Regions from separate parts of the Homo sapiens genome. Here region 1 is linked to region 2. Evidence: promoter capture Hi-C in human tissues and cell types (Jung and others, 2019). All regions are on one chromosome and are shown on one strand. Each heading gives the region's core, a stretch centred on a gene start or on the middle of the fragment in contact. The rest is flanking DNA. Distances are from core to core; before and after follow the strand shown.

The links. The method cuts DNA at HindIII sites, captures the fragments that hold promoters and counts their contacts. A contact is called where the count stands out against the background at its distance.
Region 1: a contact is called between a fragment that was not itself captured here and the fragment with the promoter of LRGUK in region 2, in 3 of the 25 tissues and cell types used here (H1 embryonic stem cells, dorsolateral prefrontal cortex and hippocampus).

What each region holds. Positions count from the first base shown.
Region 1 is chr7:134,017,758-134,022,044 of GRCh38, reverse strand. All of the region lies in intron 17 of EXOC4 (exocyst complex component 4), which reads right to left. Among named protein-coding and RNA genes, the nearest start is that of LRGUK, 110 kb to the left of the region's middle. The HindIII fragment of the contact is 3,677 bases long and covers 1,168-4,287 here.
Region 2 is chr7:134,126,021-134,128,589 of GRCh38, reverse strand. LRGUK (leucine rich repeats and guanylate kinase domain containing) reads right to left here and starts at 1,250. Exons shown (of 20, transcript NM_144648.3): 1 at 926-1,250. The coding sequence starts at 1,222. RefSeq lists enhancers at 968-1,237, 1,348-1,397. The HindIII fragment of the contact is 8,230 bases long and covers 1-2,569 here.

The DNA of each region.
Region 1 (4,287 bases), core at 1,757-4,256, 110 kb after region 2:
ACCTAAGGGAGAAATGGGGAACTGGGCTGTAATTAATTTCTGGTCAAATATATCATGAAGCCTTTAATGTTGTCAATAAAAGGCTCTAGCCACTAAAAATCCCCAACCTCTCCCTCCCTCCCTCTGTCCCCAATACCCCAAATGTTTAATCAGTGTCTCTGCGAAACAGACTGCCTGAAGGAGAATGAGATGCAGTGTTAATGCCTGCTGAAAAGTTGAGGCAATTGATCCATTCCTTCCCCTGACCGTGTGTGTCAAGAGAAAGAAGTCAATCAAGAGCTGGCCTCTCCTACTCCACTTTTTTTTTTTTTTTTTTTTTTTTCTGGTTTGACTCCATCTGCAACTGAGAAAAACAGAAGGTGCACAATTCTTTGGAAGAATTTAAACATGTAGATTCCAGGCAATGGAAATCATCACACGGCAACTGAAGCCTATATTGTTAAAGGTTAGAACACGGAGATTAAGAATGCCTCCAGGAAAAAGAGAAATGGCTGATCTGAATAAAACCTTTCCATCAATTGGAAAACTACAGCACAGCAATGGAGATGAAGAGCTAAAGCAGATGTGACATTTATGTTTTTGAGTACCTACACGTTTACATTTTGAATTACTGTTCAGAGCCTTATAAGACCTTTATAGGTCATGCAAAAGCAGTAGCCAGCGTCTAGATCTGTTTTACTCTCCTGTACGTGTGGTGAGCAAATGCTTTAAGCACGATCTTGACTATGAAAAGAAACAGGCCTACAGTACTTCCTTCCTCATTAATTCATCCATACACACAGGCATTAGTTTGTCCAATCAACAAATATTAAAATGCCTGTTATATACTGCATATCTCAGACATGTTTACAGTATCTTTATGGAATTGGATGGGAGCTAATTTGTTTCCTCTTAGATAGCTTTCCTGTGATAGTCTCTTTTGAGAGCTAGGAGTTGAGGCAGGGCTCTAGATCTCTCAAACCGCTCTCTGGCTTTATGTCATGGAACTCTAGGCAAGTCCAATCTGCAAGAGACCCTATAGTTGATCCTCTAATCAAACCCTTCATATTTTTTTTTTTTTTGAGACAGTCTTGCTCTGTCGCCCAGGCTGGAGTGCAGTGGTGCAATCTCGGCTCACTGCAAGCTCTGCCTCCTGGGTTCACGCCATTCTCCTGCTTCAGCCTCCCAAGTAGCTGGGACTACAGGCACCTGCCACCGTGCCTGGCTAATTTTTGTAGTTTTAGAAGAGACGGGGTTTTACCATGTTGGCCAGGCTGGTCTCAGACTCCTGACCTCAAGTGATCCACCTGCCTCAGCCTCCCAAAGTGCTGCCATTTCAGGCACAAACCCTTCATTTTATAGATGAGGAAACTTCAGCCAAGAGAGCTGAAGTGACTTACTCAAATTCATGCAACAATTAAAGGTTGATTTATTAGCCAACTACTAGGTGAATGAAATGCTATTTAGTTTACTCCCAAATTTCCAAGAATACAACCCGACTCTGCCTCAATGTCTACACATGTTAACTGAGAGTAATAATGGTGACCACCTTGTGTGTCATTTTAATAATTTAAAATAATCTAGAAAAGTGCTTTCAAGTTATTTTTACTTTTGCTGCCTGCAGTAGGAGATAAGAGTAAAGGGGACTAAAGGAGAAACATGAGGTTGAAAGACGATGGCCTGGATATTGCATGAATCTCAAAGAAAACGAGGTCAGGGCCGGTATTTCTGCATGATAATCTCCTGAGCACTTGTTAAGCCGCAGATGCCCAAGCCCTACCCTCAGCCTTCTAAATCAGAACTTTTAGGGATGGAGTCAAAGAGTTTCCACTTAAAACAATTTCCCTGCAAGAGACCCTGTAGCTGATAGGGAAATTCTTATACCTTCTAGTCTTTGGGAAGCACTTGGTTTAGCTGCTTATTGTCTTAAAAGCACAGGTGTATGCATTTGGATTAATGATGGTGCTGCTCAGTGCTGTTGATGACGTGCTAATTTGTGGTGAGATTCTGAGAGAGTGGTCTCGGGTCTAAGTGTTGCTCCCCAAGGACAGTTGTTTGGAAGGCCAGCAGAAGACCCACAAGCAGCATGAACACCTGACAGCTGAGCAAAACCAACCCCATAACACCACCAAGGTAGGAAGAGTCTGCAGACCCCTCTGCCGTCAAACTGCCCATTAAAGCTGATTAAAACAGTTAGCAATCAGAGCTCAGTGGAAATCAAGGGGGAAAGACACCCAACCAGAGAAAATAAAGGAAAAAAGAAATGTTTGATAGCTAAGAGAATAACTGAAAAATAAAATCATATTTTAATATAAGCAAAAGAGAGACCCAACATTGACCAAAATGGTAGCCTTACTTCACGTAGTTAAGAGCATACATAGACTTTGGGGTTGGATTGACCTAAGTTTGAATCTGGCCTCTCTTCTTATGTAAACTAGGAATTTACTTAACTTCGTTAAGCTTTAGTTTTCTCATCTTTTTGCAGCAATAGCTAAATATAGAGTTTCAGGGACATTCAGTGAACCAATGTAGGTAAAGCATTTACTAACGTTCATGTCATGTGCTGAGATCATTATATAACAGTAATTATAATTACTCATATTATACTTGGAATATGTCATCATCATCATCATCATCATCATCATCATCACTGAGAGAAAGTCACCAATATAGGCCTCTAGGATGGTTTGTAAAAAAAAATCACATGTCTTGCAGGAGCTTTCCTTGTTTTAGAGAAAGTAGTTTAAAGTTAAAGGTCTGTAAAGCTAGGTACAAAAACTATTTCTTGGTAACCTATTTGTATTTAGCTACAGATGCTCTCTAAAACATACATCGTGGCTGGGCGCTGTGCCTCATGCCTGTAATCCCAGCACTTTGGGAGGCTGAGGCAGGCAGATCACTTGAGGTCAGGAGATCGAGACCATCCTGGCTAACATGGTGAAACCCCATCTCTACTAAAAATACAAAAATTAGCCGGGTGTAGTGGCGCGTGCCTTTAATCCCAGCTACTCAGGAGGCTGAGGCAGGAGAATCGCTTGAACCTGGGAGGCGGAGGTTGCATGAGGCAAGATCAGGCCACTGCACTTCAGCCTGGGTGACAGAGCAAGAGTCAGTCTCAAAAAAACAAACAAACAAAAAACAAAAACAAACATACATCGAAAGTAATACATATCAAACATATTTTAAAACCCATATTATTTTCATAAATACTTCAGATTGCTGACAGGTAGTCTATTACAGAGAAGTAAAAGGGGGAAAACCACCCAGAAACCAAATAAACAAAATACAATCATGGTAACTAGTCACAAGAACTTTATAATTCAGTAGAGAGAGAACATGTTAATAAAAATTAGATGAATAAAATATTAAAAGATGGGAACAAATGAAGAACAATATAGCACATAATGAGGTATTAATTTTAGAGTACAGAAAATTAAAAAAAAAGGATTATAAAAAGAGCAAGTGATATGGGCCAGGCACATTGGAGAAGGTTTCAGAGAACAAAAGGTCCTTGAGCGGAGTGCTGGCCACAGAATTCACTGTGGCCATGTGACCTTCCTTCAGTACTCTGATCTTTTTCTGTTTGGATCAGCAAAGGGTGTTCAGTAAAGCAGGAGGTGGGAATGAAGAGAAGGGCTTTCTTCCTGTATATGATAAAGCAGGTAAAGGGAGGGGCAGGATGGGAAGTCTGGCATGATGTGGTTTACAGGGGCTGTAGCTCTGCTTTTACGACAGCGATTGTGCCAGTTTCCTACTTTCAAGCATCAAAATTTAAACACTACATCTTTATTTAGAAAACAAGAAAGGTCAGCTTCCAGCCTCAAATTTTTCAGTGAGAATTCTAATAGAGTCGGTAAATGATCATTCTTGGGCTTCAGTCACAGAACAAGCTTAATATCTTTTCAGTACAATGCAACCCTTCCCTGGCAGAAAAATAGCCTCCCTGGGTGGGTTAATTAACTAACTATGATGAATACAAAGGTACTGCAGAATATATAAACAGCAGGATTCGATGACAGATTCTGGACAAGTCACTTCTTATTTCTGTTCCTTGGGATCTTTACTGGATAATAATAATACTCGCTATCTATGCTAATCTCTGAATCATTCCAATTCCAGCACATGTGCTACAAAGGGAAGAGTGTCACTGTCTGCCAGTAATCTCGAGGAACCCTAAATTATACATTGACAATATATATATACAAAATATGGTGACACTAATTGAGCATAATCAAAAGAAATCTTACTTAATCAAAGCCTCACACATGAGATATGTTTATGGGGAATCAAACGTCAGTTACTGAGAGA
Region 2 (2,569 bases), core at 1-2,500:
GACAAAGCCAGACTCCATCTCAAAAACATAAACAAAATAGAAAGGAAGCAAATTAAATTACGCTTTTGAAAGAAAGCAATTTATTAGAAGCCAAGAGAAAAGAAGTGATGTGATGAGAAGTGGAAAAGGACAAGAAGACAACAATGGACTAAGAAAGGAAAAGGACCATAATAAGCATAAGAAAGAAGAGGAATTGTGTGGTGGTCAGAAGAGATATTGTAGAAAGGAGGGAATGGCAGTCATGTGAAACGCGAAGCCGCCATCCCAGTCAATATGGGTGGGATGATGGGAACATTCCCCACATCCTAAAATATTCCCACAATGAGCTGGCTGTTCGAACATTATAAGGCTCTTTTCTGGTGTGTGTGCATGTTGCTTGTATAAGGCATATGCCCCCGACAGAAGTAATGTATTCAACTTTTAAGTCACTTAGTCTTTGAAGAAGCACTTTCAAAAGCGGATTTTTTTTTTTTTTTTTTTCCTGGAGGGAGGCTGACGGGACTAGAACTGAGGAAGAGTGTGGAAGTATGTCATAGCCATGGGCAACAGGTGCTGGCAATGTCAGAGATGAACTCTGCCTATTCACAATACTGTCAAAGTATAATTTTGAAAAAGCTAAAGCCATAATTCCCAGACAATTATCTAGACACTCTTACAAAGTGACGCTGTGTTAACTCGACTCATAAGAAATCAAATGTGTTAATGAAAAAAGAAAGGAACTATTTAGAGCTATTTCAGGCAGGGGGTGAGAAAACGGGGTAAAAGACAGGGGAAGAAAAGAGGGGGAAGAGGCGTTCCTGGAGGCGAGAGAGCCTGAGAAGGTGTGGGAAGCTTCGGGCTGGTGGGGGTGCATCGGGGAGCTGCCGCTGAAGTAACAGGGCTGGACGAGGGAGCCAGGGAGTACGGGGTGGGGGGGAAGACACACCTCCAAATTCAGCATTTCGGACTCTGAGGACTCCTCGGATCCCGCCTCGCCCTCGCCCTGGTCCTCATCTCCGTCCGAGTCCAGCTCCTGATAGCGGTGCATGAGCTGCTGGAGCAGGTAGGAGGAGGCTATGTTAGAGCTGCCTTTCGTCTTCTGCCCCATGGGAAAAGACCAGCAAGGCTGACGCTCTTTTTCTGCGCGAAACTGTAACGATCGGGCTCCAGTTCGGGATCTGCCCAAGCCTCTCAGGAGAGAGGCAGCTCTGGTCCTCAGGAGAGCCCTCTCGGAGGTCGCCATCTTGTTTAGCGGGGTTGCCTAGGAGACTGACCCCAGGCAAGGGGAACCGCGGAGGATTCTGGGGCCTGTAGTCTCCTCCGCGCGTACTCGCCTTCTGCAGGCGGGGCAGTGGGCGCTCCACTTGACTTTTCTTTTTCTCAGTCTCTTCTGTTATTTTTCTCTCTTTGGTCTGTTCTGTTCGCTTATCTTTCCTGTTTTCACCTCTTTTCGCTACACCCCCTTTCTTTGTCTCCAGCTGTTTCCTCCCTACCCTGAGACCCCTCTTAGAGCTTTGTCATCCCACGATAGGATCGCAGGTGCGCCACCGTTGCCGCTTCATTCCCAAAGGGCTCTTTCCGCAGAGTCGTACTTTAGAAGTGTCTAATGTCTCTAAAGCAGTCTGTAGGAAAGCTAGTACCACTGAAATTTATGCAAAGCGCGACGCTAGGAGATGAGGGTGCATATAAGTGAAATAGAAGGCATGGTTCCTGTCCTTATGATTTAATTGCAGATAATAAAGAGAAACTACCAGACGACGCCTGAGAGCTGATTTCCAATTAATTTACATTCCCCACCCCCACCCCCCAATGATAAGCCTTGTCCTTGGGGAGAAAAACTGGCAGTGGTCTTACAATCCAAACAGAGAGAGAAAAAACTGCTGTCAAATTGACACTGTATCTGAAAGCGTCTGAAAAGCTATTAGCATCCCATAAATAATTATATTAGTCAAGTGACCTGCATTGGCAATTATTTTAATCTTGTTGCACAGGCTCTCTTTGCAGTTAAAAAAAATACTCTTTCAAGATAACAAAGCACGATTTTATGCTAGTGTGATTTTATGTGACCCAAATCCCATAGCCTTAAGCTCCACAACGTCGACACTCTATAGAAAAGCAGAATGAAAATTATAGTAACTATTATTGCCATAGTGATGACAATAGAGATCCTTGCAGGGAAGTAGCCCTCATCCTTCTGGCCTTACAGGGCCTTTTCTGCACGCTTCAATGACAGCAGTTGCAAATACAAAATGATCCTGTCAATGGCTGTCAGGGGAGAAGGAGAAAAAATCCTTATGGACACCATCCATTGACGATTATCTTTCTCAGTGCTTGAGGGACCGTTAAAACTGACATAAAGCTTTCAGAATTACCTTCCTTCATTATCTTGCTAGTCATAAATGTAAAGGCCACAAGCAAAATATCTCTTTCTGCCAGGCTCATCTTGCTTTTTGCTTATTTCTTTTTCCAATAAGTAGAGATTCCTCCAAGGGAATTTTCCCCACCCTTACCCTCGTAGGGCCTGGCTTCGGCTAAGTGACATAGGGAAGAATCAGGCAGAAAGTGTAAAAATGCAAATCTCGATCGTTTT